Linked DNA regions of Homo sapiens: region 1 is linked to region 2. Evidence: promoter capture Hi-C in human tissues and cell types (Jung and others, 2019). All regions are on one chromosome and are shown on one strand. The core of a region is centred on a gene start or on the middle of the fragment in contact, and the rest is flanking DNA. Distances in the headings are between cores, read along the strand shown.

Region 1 (7,030 bases), core at 115-2,614, 170 kb after region 2:
CAGTATATGGTTAGCAACAGCAGGTGATGTGGAAGATGGTTATAAATACAGCTAAGGGAGATTTTTTTTATTTTTATTTTTATTTTTTTTACAAGATCATAAAGGTCAGGTAAGCTAGGGAGATTTCATAGGCCAAATAAAATTTTTGTAGATCTACCAAATTTGAAGAAAACTTATTTGCAATATAATACTTTCTGATTATACTATCTATATTACCTTCTGATAATATGTTTTAATTTTATATGAACACTGGAGAATCTGCAGTTCATTTACAGTCTAGACATATTTTTAAAGAAATACAAATATTGGATGGGAATACATAAACATTCCAGTGAAAGCTTTTTAGAAAAATCTTAGTTTGCAAATTCATAATAATAATAGCTGGGCCGGGTGCAGTGGCTCATGCCTGTAATCCCAGCACTTTGGGAGGCCAAGGCACGAGGATTACTTGAGGTCAGGAGTTCAAGTCCAGCCTGGCCAACATGGTGAAACCTCGTCTCTACTAAAAATACAAAAATTAGCTGGGCATGGTGGCAGATGCCTGTAATCTCAGCTACTTGGGAGGCTGAGGCAGGAGAATCGCTTGAACCCAGGAGGCAGAGGTTGCAGTGAGCCGAGATCATGCCACTGTACTCCAGCCTGGGTAACAGAGCTAGACTCCGTCTCAAAATAATAATAATAATAATAATAATAATAATAATAATAATAATAATAATAGCTAACATTTATTGAGTACTTGCTACTCTTGCTACCAAGCACTCTCTTAAGTACTTTTTGTGTATCACGTCATTTAAATCCTGTAAGTCCCTTATGACATACATACAGTTATTATCTGAGCTACCATACTACACAAACCAGAGGGTACCATTCATACAGTAGCCCATGTGAATGGCAACTCTCTGGAACTATGTAGTGTGGTGGCTCAGATTATTACCTTCAATTTACTCACAGAGAAACTGAGGCAGAGTATAAGTTTAAGTAACATTTCCAAAGTCAAACGGCTAGTTAGTGGCGTACCAGGGTTTTGAATCCAGGCAGTCTGGCTCCAGAGCTCACACAGTGAACCACTATACCATATCTATTTCTAGGATAGGGAGAATACACCTTGGTGGTCTCTTCCAGAAACAGGAGCTGGGCTAGGACTAATGTATTTTAGAAAGGAATCACATCTTACTATATTTTAGAATTTAAAAAAACTTCATCAAACATAAATGAAATGCTGTAATAAAACATTTTGAAGAGACTCTATTAATGATTTAAAATTACTGCGCTAGATAAGCCAGTCAAAAATAGACTAATACTGTATGATTCCACTTACATGAGGTGTTATTGTAGTAAAATTCAGAGACAAAAGGTAAAATAGTGGTTGCTAAAGCCTAGGGAGAGGGGAGAATGGGAAACAGTTTGTTCACTGGGCACAGAACTTCACTGTTGCAAAATAAAAAAAAAAAAAACAGAAAAACGGGAGATTGGTTGCACAACAGTGAATCAACTTAATACTACTGAACTGTATACTTAAAAACGGTTAAGATGGTAAATTTTATGTTACATATATTTTACTATTTTTTAAAAATGTACTGCACTGGAAATATATTTAAATTATATTGTTCAGTGCCAAAGGCAAGTTGCAGAGGAGGACATGTAACGAACATTTCTTTTGAAAACATAAAATATGTTATTAGGTTGGTGCAAAAGCAATTGCCAGTACTTTAAATGGCAAAAACCGCAATTGCTTTTGCACCAACTGAATAGTATATGCATAGAAAAAAATCTGGAGTTTTACATACCAAATTCATAATAGTGGTTATTTTTGAAAAGTAGGATTATGAGGACTTTCATTTTTTATATTATACCTTTCTATAATATTTGAATTTTAAAATAATGCATGTATTACTTTTGTAGGCAAAAAACAGGATAAAATCTTTTTAAAGACCTCAGCCTCCATAATCAGCACATTTTCAGATGCTCTTATCACAATGGAAATGATTTTTTAAGCAATTAACACCAGATGAAATGAAACAACCTACTTTAAACTTTCTTCTGGCTGGGCACGGTGGCTCATGCCTGTAATCCGAAAACTTTGGGAGGCCGAAGCAGATGGATCACTTGAAGCCAGGAGTTGGAGACTAGCCTGGCCAACATGGTGAAACCCCGTCTCTACAAAAATTAGCTGGGTGTGGTGGCACACGCCTGTAATCCTAGCTACTCAGGAGACTGAGGCAGGGGAATTGCTTGAACCCAGGAGGCAGAGGTTGCAGTGAGCCGAGATCACACCATTGCACTCCAGCCTGGGCAACAGAGCAAGACTCCATCTCTAAATAATAATAATAATACACTTTCTTCAAGAGAAAATATTTTTATTAAATTTTAGAGGAAAATGTATCTTTTATATTTACTAATTTCATTTACATGTGTATATATGTAAAAGCTTCTTTTTAGTTTTTAATTAATTAATTAATGTTTTGAGACAGAGTTTCACTCTCGCTGCCTAGGCTAGAGTGCAATGGCTTGATCTCGGCTCACCACAACCTCTGCCTCCTGGGTTCAAGTGATTCTCCTGCCTCAGCCTCCCGAGTAGCTGGGATTACAGGCATGTGCCACCACGCCTGGCTAATTTTGTATTTTTAGTAGAGACGGGGTTTCTCCTTGTTGGTCAGGCTGGTCTTGAACTCCTGACCTCAGGTGATCTGCCCGGCTTGGCCTTCCAAAATGCTGGGATTACAGGTGTGAGCCACTGCTCCCAGCCAAGCTTCTTTTTAATAAATAACTTTAAAAACTCTAATTCTGACAATATAATCAAGGGCAAAAAATTTGTTCTCATCTTTGGCAAAATAAAAAAATATTAAGGAACTTTAAGAGGAATCACAGTCTATTCCTTTCATTCCTCTTTTAGATGAGGAAAGATCTTAAAAAAATCAAGGAATTTGCTTCAAGCTCCATAAATAGTGGCAAAATTAACATGAGAATTTTTGCCTCCAAATTCCTAGTTTGGTGCCCTTCCTATACATGTCATTCTATTTTCATTTTATATCTGGATATGAAACAATGAAGAAAAACTTTAAACCAATTAAACAGTTGTGATTAAAGTCTTCCAGTTTCTTATAGGCCTATTTTTATATTGTATTTAGACTTGAATAGTTGTACAATCCTCTTTTAAAATGGACAAAAACTCTAAATATTTAACCAATTAAAAATAATTTTTGATGCCATGTTGTTGTAATTATCTTCTGTTTTTTACTGACTGCCAATAGAATTTTAGAACCACTACAGAATTAAGTATTTTGAAAAGATCTTCACATAAATTTGGAATACTTAACATTGGTTCATTACTATTATCTAACATGTAGCTATATCCAAATTTTCTCCTAAATTTTCCTTTTTGTTGTTGTTGTTGTTGTCCAGGCTGGAGTGCAGTGGTGCAATTATGGCTCACTCCAGCCTTGACTTCCTAGGCTCAGATGATCCTCCCACCTCAGCCCCACAAGCAGATGAGACTACAGCCTCAGGCCACCGTGCCCAGCTAATTTTTGAATTTTTTTTTATAGAGATAGGAGTCTCACTATGTGGCCCAGGATGGTCTTGAGTCTTGAACTCCTGGCCTCAAGTGATCCTCTCACCTTGGCCTCCCAAAGTGCTGGGATTATAGGTGTGAGCCACCATGCCAGGCAAATTTTCCTTTTTAGCAATTCATTTTTTTGGTCTAGGATTCAGTCCAGGATCACACATTGCATTAATTGTCATGTCATTTACTTTAATTTGGAACAGTTATTTCTTTAGCCTGTCTTTGTCTTTCATGACACTGACATTTTTTGAACAATATAGGTCAATTGTTATGTAAAATTTAAAGTTTACTTGATATGAATTGAAAGCTATTATTAATTTAGAAGACAAAGAGTCTTCTAATATATATGATAAAGAATACTTTCTATTCTTTTGGAGGGATACAAAAACACTGCCCATTTTGCTGAAAAGATAAGTAAAATGATCGTTATCATAAAAGAAAGTAACATGATCGCCACCTTGAGCTTGTTCATAGAATTTGAAAGTGTGAATAGTGATAAATAAGTATCAATTTCTAATAGCCTGTTTAGCATCTGCTGCTTTTTTTTTTTTTAATAAGATTGTTTCTACGCCTACTCAGCCATACTTACTGGGAAGATAATCAGTACTTTTTATTTCAATAGGGATGCTGAGCTTCTATTATGCAAACAATTATGGCCTTTATGAATCTTTCTGAAGCTTTATCAATGTGCTATTATCCTCAATTGGTAAGCATTTTATTTTATTAACTTCAATTTAAAGTGTTAATAAAAATAGTTGAATTTAAAAGCCAGTTACACTGTTTCTATTTGGGTAGCCATGTGGATCTGTTAACTCTGTGACTCAGCGTAAACTATAGGACTTCTTGCCTCTGGAAATAATGTGAAGACACTGGTATCTGCCTCTTGCTTAAGAAGGAAATACTGAAAAATGAAGCTGACCTATGTGAAACTTCTTGTATTCTTTCGAAGGACCTTAGAAATAGCATCATTAGGTTGTTTATGTAAATGTTAAATTAGGAGACCAGACAATTGCCACAGACTGGGAAGACATGACAGCTAAATGCAATGTGGTAACTTGACTGGATCCTGCAGCAGAAGGAAAACACCAGTGGGAAAACTGCTGAAATCAAAGTCTGGAGTTTAGTTAATAGTCATGAACCAATGTCATTTTCTTAGTTTTGATAAATCTACTATGGTAATACAAGATATTAACAATGTGGGAAATTGGGTGATGGATATGTGGGAACTCTCTGTATTAACCTTTGCAACTTCCCTATACATCTAAAATTCTTCCAAAATAAAAGGCTTATTTAAGAAAATAGGCAGCCATTTGCTTGACCCATTGTTAAAATAATAATATAGAATGTCTAGTGATGAATTAAATAATTTCACTTAGTACTTACCATGGATGTTGTAGCCTATTACACTTAGTGATACAAAGATAGTAGCCAAGTAATCCAAAAATAACCAAAAATACTCCAGCAGCAATTAATCCAGTCAGAAGGCCCATAACATCTATTTTCTCTCTGTTGCCATCTTAAAATAAATCATTAAAATAACATAAATATAACAACTATATAGCATCACCTATGATTTCAACAAATTTAATCCTGGTTCTAAACACATTATACAGCATCTAATCATTGATGTTGACTTCTTTCAAGTCTTTGTGCTAGAGAATCTACCTGAAAAAAATTTAAATGACACTTCTAATAGCCCTAGTTATGGTTATTCTTTTATTTATTAAAATATAAATATATTTATTTATTTAAAATATATATATTTTTTAAATATTTAAAATATACTACTTATATTTTAATAATATTTAAAATATACTATTTATATTTTAATAGTATTCAAAATATATTTATATTTTAATAATATTCAAAATATATCTATATTTTAATAATATTCAAAATATATTTATATTTTAATAATATTCAAAATATAATACTTATATTTTAATAATATTCAAAATATAATACTTATATTTTAATAATATTCAAAATATTTTGTTATTTAAATTTATTTATTTAAAAATTATTTATTTAAAAATATTTGAAATATCCATTTATTAAATGGATAATATTCAGCATTAAGTGGGATAAACATATTCACTGCTCAACTAGACATACTTTGGTATTAACCACTGAGATAATATTTATTAAGCAACTCAGGGTAGCTATGCAACATAACCTGCCATGGAGGGGGCCCTACCTAAGAGGAATGAAAGAATAGCTGGCGAAAAAAACACCTGACTAAAATGCAGCTAGAGATGATCAATACAGATGAGATAAAGATCTCCCCTCTCTACAAGTTACTTAATTCGATCCAACAATCTTAATTTATCTAGCATAAATGTTCCATCTGCCTTTAATGGTAAAAAAGAAAAAAAGTTAAAATAGCTTACATCTTGAAATGAATAGAATCTGCTTTTATTCTGTGCAAGTCTTGACTTAGCTGAGCTGTTTAAAACAGCTTTAAGCCCATTATCTCATTTTCCTAGTATCTCACCAAACTTGATTTTCAGTGTATTAAATAGATGAATCTGTCCTTTTCTGTCTGAGATAGCCCGGTGCATAGTTGAGAAATCTCCTTGGATTTATAAGGTATGTATGTTGCGCAACAACCAAACTCAAACAATAAAACTAAAATGTATTACAACAGAGAGAGGATGAGAAAAGCATTAAATTTGATCAATTCTTGTTTTACCTGATTTTGTGGTTGGTCCTTTAGCTGAATATTCCTGCCAAAATGCAATCTAAAAAAAAGGTAAAATTCCCAAGTTTATTCAATATCTTTATTATCACATTTCATTTGGTCCTAATGACCTAGACTAGGGGTAGTAAACTCTTGGCATGCACCATAGGTAGGAGACCAGTTCATTCAAGCTGGAGGGTGTGACTCACTCTAATTAAATCACTACCACCCACAGCTGCCTCTGCCATCTCTCTAATTGTCAAGGGATTACTGCCAGTCCCAGCTCTTTACTACTGTGCCTACTATTTTCCCTTCACCTGACTGGAGCCCCCACTAAAGCATTGGGGGAAATTATTGCATTAGAGAGTAGGTGAAAGTACCAAAGGTAGAAGTTGAGGCTGTGGACCCACTATCATGATTGAACAGGAGACTGAAGTTTTCTATGGGAGGTAAGCCCTCAGTTTGTCTCAGGAGATTTTTTTTTTTTTCCGGACAGGATTACTCTGTTGCCCAAGCTGGAGTGCAGTGGTGTGATCATGGCTCACTGCAGCCTTGACCTTCCAGGCTCAAACGATCCTCCCACCTCAGCCTCCCGAGTAGCTGGAACTACAGGCGCCTGACACCACGCCCAGGTAATTTTTTCTTTTTTGCAGAGATGGAGTTTCATCGTGAAGCCCAGGCTGGTCTTGAACTCCTGGGCTCAAGTAATCCTCCCACCTCTGCCCCGCAAAGTGCTGGGATTACAAGCATGAGCCACTGTGCCCTTCTGGGAGATCTTATTGAAAGGT
Region 2 (7,224 bases), core at 4,637-7,136:
AGGCATGATACAATGCAGCCCTCACAGGTCCCCTCTGTTCTCACTGACCATTAATTCCCAACCATTGCATCCTGGGATATTTCCCTTCAAGCACCACCACCCACAAACTAGCTCATGTTCATACAGATGCTTTCATACACAATGTACCCTGGACTTGACAAGTAAATGTGCCAAAACCCATACCAGGATAACCTGCTTTTTAAAATGCTGACTTCACCAGCTGAACATATATGGTTTGAAACTTATTTATCGTCATTTAAAAGCTGAAATGAATATTGGTATAGCAGATCATGGCCCAGTAAGATGACTTACTGTGATTTCTAAACAGGATTTAAGAGACCAAAAATAGACAATGAATGTTTTTTAAGTCTTGCAATCAGAATTAAGGGTTCAGCTTGTCCTCAAACCTCACTTTCATATGAGCTAAACAACCTTTTAAAATCCATCACTATCTACATCTTGATGCTTCCTTACATTTGGTCAAGCATTTTCTTTTTTTTCTTTTTTTTTTTTTGAGATGGTGTCTCACTCTGTCGCCAGGCTGGAGTGCAGTGGTGCGATCTTGGCTCACTGCAACCTCCAACTCCCTGCTTCAAGTGATTTTCCTGCCTCAGCCTCCCAAGTAGCTAGGATTACAGGCACGCGCCACCACGTGCAGCTAATTTTTTTTTGTATTTTTAGTAGAGACAGGGTTTCACCATGTTGGCCAGGATGGTCTGGAACTCCTGACCTCGTGATCCACCCACCTCGGCCTCCCAAAGTGCTGGGATTACAGGTGTGAGCCACCACACCCAGCCTGGTCAAGCATTTTCTAAAAGCATCATAACAAATGGAATCAAAGAGTTTAGAGATCAGCTGTAAAAACTCTGGATAAGAGACAATCTCTGTAAGTAGGTTTCTTTATCTACTGATAAAATAGTTGAACACAATATTTTAGGTTAGTTTCAGGTCTAAACTGCCAGGGCAGGCACAGTGGCTCATGCCTCTGACCCCAGGACTTTGGGAGGCCATGGCGGGAAGATTGCTTGAGGCCAGGAGTTCGAGGTTACAGTGGGCTAGGATCGCACCACTGCACTCCAGCCTGGGTGACAGAGTGAGATCCTGTCTTTAAATAAACTGATTATAGGAATGTAAAGACTGAAATTATATCTCCTCCATTTAGATAAGGACATTGAACACCAAATATGGCAGATCTATAGGCAAGAAAGGAAGCATATGGACAAATTTGACCCTACCAGATACAAAACCTTTTGGAAGGTTGCCTAAGGAGGCTCAGGAATAATTTGATTATCTAGCCTTCAACACATAGTCTCAAGCACTATATAAATCTAGGCTAGTTAACCTTCATTTTTCAAGCAGTCTCATCCTTATTTGCTTGAAAACAATAGCTATTTTTCAAAAGCTGCCCTTCACATGTATTTGAACTCTACCATAAAAAACGTTTACCAAAAGTAAAAGTTAAACTTCTAAGATAATATTGAACACTTATATATACGTGTAGTACCAGTAATAATCATCCTCACTTCTAAGAATTCACACTAAATAACTGAGTCATAATAATTCCCTAAAAATGTAAAGAAATTACATTTACCCAAAAATTAGGGATAATCAGCATCAACCATAATCCACCCTGTCAGCAACCCTAGTCCTACTGTGAAAACCTATGAAAACCTATTTAAAGGGAAAACAATTGTATAATCACTTCAAATAGTAAGATTATATTAAATCTTTAGAAGTAGATCAATATACACATTATAAAATTGGATCCCAATGTAAGGTAAACATACACACAGAATTAATAAAACACACTACCTCTTAATGAACATATAACAAATTTGTTTCCATTCTCGGTCTTTAGACTGGACTTAAAAAAAAAAAAAAAAAAGGAACTGAATCCAGACAGTTGATGTTTCTCCATAAAACTTTTAAGAGATGGTGAGCTAGTGCCCGATTTCTTTCAGATTTCCTAGCGGTTTACAGAGGTTTAAATTATTTAATTGCCTTACAGATTGCCTCAATATAATACAATTGGTTAGTCAATATTTGTTAGTTGTTAATTATTGCTAACTACTAAAAAACTTACTTTTTTTTCTTTTTTGAGACAGAGTCTCACTTTGTCATCCAGGTTGGAATGCAGTGGTGTGATCTCGGCTCACTGCAACCTCTGCCTCCTGGGTTCAAGCGATTCTCCTGCCTCAACCTCCTGAGTAGCTGGGATTACAGGTGTGCGCCACTACACCCAGACAATTTTTGGATTTTTAGTAGAAATGGGGTTTTGTCGCATTGGCCAGGCTGGTCTCAAACTCCTGGCCTCAAATGATCCACCTGCCTCAACCTCCCAAAGTGCTGGCATTACAGGTGTGAGCCACTACACCCCGTTCATAAAAAAAATTTTTAAAGGAAGGTTAACCCAGTGGTTCTCAGTGGGTGATTATACCCCCAACAGGACATGTCTGGAGACATTTTTGATTGTCACAATGAGTGTGGGTATTGCTGGCATCCAGTGGGTAGAGGGATGCTACTAAACATCTTACAATGCACAGACAGCACCCACAACAAAGAAAACGTCAGTAGTGCCAAGGTTAAGAAACCTTGGGTTGACTGAATACTGTTCAGACATGGAAACTTGAGTTAACGCAGCAGACACAGTGCTAGGTGCTGTGACTACAAAGAGTTAGACCAGTGTGGACTCTGCAGTCCCAGGGACCTGAGTTCCGTTGTTGGGTCCATCATTTACTAATAACACGATCTTGGGCAAACTGCCTAACTTTTCTGTTGCAAAACAGAGCTAACTCCACTTCTCTCACTCATTGCGAGGATCATGAGACAATATGTTAATGTGTCTCGCAAAATGTCCAGAAATTAACAGATGTATCACTAAAAACAAAAGGAGCAAACTGTCACAGTCTAGAAGAGTAGATTCATTACATGACAACTGAATGTAATATAATATCTTGGATGGGATCCTGGAAGAGAACATTAGGCAAACACCAAGGGAATCTAAGTGTGGACTTCAGTTAATAATTATATGTATCAATATTGGTTCATTAATTATGACAAATGGACCATACTATTTAGTGAATCTAAAATTTTATTTTAAAAGTAGAAAGAAAAGGGAGGTATCTTTCTTCCTCTTCCTTCCTCTGAACTCAGAGGACACAGTCCCCAACCTTAGGAGTTTACCTTTTATTTACTCCTACTACCTGGATGATAATGTCAAGTTCTGAATAGTATTCAATCACATAAAGGCCAACAGGAGATGAGAAGACAAGATGTGACACATACCAGAGGATTTAACTTTTCATCAGAAAATAACACATCTATAAATCCTAGACCATTTAGGATTTAAGAGAATTTTAAGAAAGATTTTTTCAAAAGAGGTTTTAAAATATTACTCACACAAAGAATTGTCAAGACAACAAAGAAAAAGGACATTTGTTGGATAGTAACCAAAACCTCATGAAAATATTAATAGATAAATGTAAAGAGAATTGTGTTTATGGTGTTAAAACTTGACAGTTGTGACTGAGTGGAAAAATTTTCTATACTATGATCCCAAGATTACAACACTTTTACTGGATATTGGTTCTGGTAGTCCAAAGTTTATTTTCCTGCTAGTTGGCATTAGAGGCGTCATGCTGAAGACTGCGATTGCCTCTGAAAAGAAGGCTGCAGGTAGGTAAAAGAAGTCTACCAACAAGAAAAATTTACAATATCTACGAGAATTATCAGCAAAAGCAGACATTGGTCTCTGCTTTAATTCACATACATTAATGAGACAGCATATGGGAAGTACTTTGAGCTCCCTGGAAAAGTGATACCAGGCAAACTCAAAGAATTAGGTTACAGTATAAAGGGATAACAGGATAACAGACTACTTTCTTGTTTGTCGTATTAAAAGACAAGTGTTTTTGACATACTGGCTGAAGACTGGCATATAGATCTCATTTCTTGTACATAAATCAGGTCCCTGGTCATTACAGCCCCTTTAAGGTAAGTGAGAGTTACTAATCGGTGGAGAAACAAAAGTACAAAGCTGCCTGCCAGAGCACACAGAAAGAGAATGGCAAAGAACCAATAACCGTGTGCTCCCACTACCTTGCTCACTGGAACTATGACAAGGCAACTAAAGGGTGAAAGAAAGGCTAACAAATGTTACCAGGTCGGGATTCCAGCGGTAGCAAGCAAAACGAGTGAGAACAACAGCGGGCCCCTCTCCGTCCACTGCAGCTAGTGTGCCGAGGACAGTGTTCCTTTGATTCCTGATAACCAGCACTTCAACTCTTCCCTTAGAGAGTTATCTACTTAATTTCTGAATACATACTTCCTTACACCATCTAAGAACCTGTTCACAAATGCCCAAAGCTCCAGAATTGGTATTTCAGCTATTAGAGAAAACAGGGTACCATGTTTTTATTTTAAGCAGGTGACATTTGGGAATTTCCTTCACTGAGTAAGTGGGCCCAAAAGATTTCTCAAGACTGTTTTCAATGTCATTTGGTTTTAAATTCCCAAATGTCTTAGCATTTGTCTTCTCTTCACAACATAAATCAAGGAGACATTCTCAATGTGGCCACTATGTGCTTACCTGAATCCTTTACATGGAAGCAGACTAAGGTCAATATTATGATTTTTCTTAGAAAAGGACAAGTGAAAAATGGTTCTCTACCATAATCTGTCGTTAGCATTTTGAAGATTAAAATGAGCATTAGTGAGTAAGTCAAACACAAGAGTGGGGCCACTGAGAAGCACCCATTTGACCCAGAGGAAGGAATCACAGTTTCACTGGTTGGTGTTTTTACAAATGAAAGGCTTTTGTCAGAAAGGGAACTAATTCCTACGACATCCCAGACTGGAGCTCCAGAAAGGGGAAAAAGTTGTAACTTAACCAAAAGAAAAAAGCCAAGGGTTATCTGAGTATCTTAACAGTTATCTGAGTCACCCCTATTAACTGGGTTGTAGATCTGCTATAACCAGCATTTTAGAAGTGATATCCGATTCTCTTCATGTGTTTGAACATTTAAAGAAACCAGAATCCTAAATCAACTGCCCCCAAAAGACACGATTAGGCCCGTGGCAGAATTTGCCAACTTCCCTCCTAATTTCATGTAACTGTTTTTTTAGCCAAAAACTTCTATTCACTAAAATACTGCTTATACATAAAGTGTTAATAAATACCTTTTATGCCAAATTCCTGCCAGTAGAACTCACATAAACCTCTCATCCCTCCCAGGAAGAGTCTGGGGAGACAAGCTGACTCTTGACTCCTAGCAGTCTGGAGAACAAAGTGGGCAAGGGAGGAGCTCGGCCCCTGGCCATACTGTGTCGTCAAGGTTTGTGGTTGAGACAGGGGGCAAAGAACTACACAAATTCCAGATACCACACTTGTCACCGGTAGCACCGCGGAGCATATCCCGGAGCTCCCCGGCGCGTGCCTGGCACGTTAGCGGGCGCACAGACCAACGCGCGGTCAAGTTGAGAGTCTGGGTAGAAAGAAAAAAGCTGGGCTGTGCGGGCGGGCTCTGCCGCTTGCAGCCCACCAGCCAGAGAGGAACTCGATCCGCCCGCTCGGCGGGGGCGTTGGCCAAGTGGTCGCAGCTGTGCTGTGCTCGCCCAGCCGGCCGTTGACAGGCGCAGGCGGCCGAACGCCCCACGCCGCCCGCCCCGCGCCGGGACCCAGCCCGCGCACCCCAGCCCGCCCCGCGCCATCCCAGGCGGCAGTCCTCGGCACCTACCCGGAGGCCTGTGCGCGGGGCTGTGGAGAGCCGAGAGGTTCAGCGCAGCAGCCTTCTCCTGCACGGTGGCCATGGCCCTTGCTCCCCGGACGCCAACTCCTCCAGCAGCTTCACAGCTCCCTAGCTCCCTGAGCGCCCGTCTGTTAACTGTGCGGGGCGTGGCTCCCTGCAGGCCCCGCCCCCGCTGCCGGTCACGTGTCTCTCTGGCAACCACTGAACGTAGCCCGCGGCGCCAGCGATCCAAGTTTCCTCGGGCGCGATGCCACGCGAGCGGTGGTCGGGGACAAAGCGGTTCCCTGGGCCGGCACTACGCGGCCCGCGGCTCACACCAGCGGGATTCGAACCGCGGCCTGCCGTAGATTAACTCGGGACCAGGCCGGGCGCGGTGGCTCACGCCTGTAATCCCAGCACTTTGGGAGGCCAGGGCAGGTAGAGCACCTGAGGTCAGGAGTTCGAGAGCAGCCTGGCCTACATGGCGAAACCCCTTCTCTACTAAAAATACAAAAATTAGCTGGGCTTGGTGACAGGCGCCTGTAATCCCAGCTACTCGGGAGGCCGAGGCACAAGAATCGCTTGAACTCAGGAGGCGGAGGTTGCAGTGAGCCGAGATCCACCACTGCACTCCAGCCTGGGCGACACAGCGAGACTCCGTCTCAAAAAAAAAAAAAAAAAAAAAAGAAATAGAAAAAGTCGGGAACCTGGCAAGCTGCCTAACTGCTCTGTGCGTCGGTGTCCTCACCTGTGATGCGGGGGTAGGTTTAGTACCTGCTTCACTGAGATGTTTGTTTGTTTTTTAACGAGGTTTATAGGAACCAATTCAGGTTCAGCATTTAGTAACTGCGTCCGGAACGTAAGTGCTTAAAATTATGTCATAGTAGTAGTAGTAATAGTGATAATAACAATAATAATCGAGTTTTTCAGACATCCCTACCTGTGCAGAACAAACAAATCCTATGTGGCCCAGGAGAGCAATGTCTAGAGGTCACAGGAGGGCAGCAACGAAAGACCCTGGGACTGGCTGCCAGGAAATCTGTGCTGCCTCCAAAGGAACTGTGGGTCGGGTGGGTAGGGACAGTTTGCTGCCGGTTGGAGTGAAGGTGAGGAGAGAAAAGGAGGAAGGGCTATTAATGGGACACATCTTAGTTACTTGGAAGTTGAAGCCAGGCCAGGGATCCAATGCTGGATACCTCTGAAAGGATGAGTGGTCTTAGAGACCAATAATCCAATTGCCAGACACTTGCCCTTTTTTTTTTCTTTTTTTTCAAGTTTGGGAATTTTGCAATGATTTTCAAAACGATTATGACGTCTTCTTAGAAGGAGGATGCTTGTGTGATTTAGGTGTAAATTAGAATGGTGTTTAAGTGGGAGTTCATTATTTAGCTTATTGGAAAGAGCTTCTACATGGGATTGTTTCAGAGAATACATACTAAGAAGCTGCCCCTGGGGACTTGGGTTTGTGGGTGGGAGGTGGGGGCCAGTTGCTGCTGCT

The links. Contacts are between HindIII fragments. The study calls those that stand out against the background at their distance.
Region 1: a contact is called between a fragment that was not itself captured here and the fragment with the promoter of DEPDC7 in region 2, in 1 of the 25 tissues and cell types used here (spleen).

Annotation. Positions count from the first base shown.
Region 1 is chr11:32,838,155-32,845,184 of GRCh38, reverse strand. It overlaps PRRG4 (proline rich and Gla domain 4), which reads right to left. Exons shown (of 6, transcript NM_024081.6): 4 at 6,255-6,303; 5 at 4,946-5,078. Among named protein-coding and RNA genes, the nearest start is that of PRRG4, 12 kb to the right of the region's middle. The HindIII fragment of the contact is 4,260 bases long and covers 1-3,494 here.
Region 2 is chr11:33,014,540-33,021,763 of GRCh38, reverse strand. It overlaps DEPDC7 (DEP domain containing 7), which reads right to left and starts at 5,886. Exons shown (of 9, transcript NM_001077242.2): 1 at 5,736-5,886. The coding sequence starts at 5,808. It overlaps LOC105376615 (a long non-coding RNA gene), which reads left to right and starts at 5,974. Exons shown (of 4, transcript XR_931167.2): 1 at 5,974-6,487. RefSeq lists silencers at 5,612-5,671, 5,992-6,041. The HindIII fragment of the contact is 12,017 bases long and covers 1-7,224 here.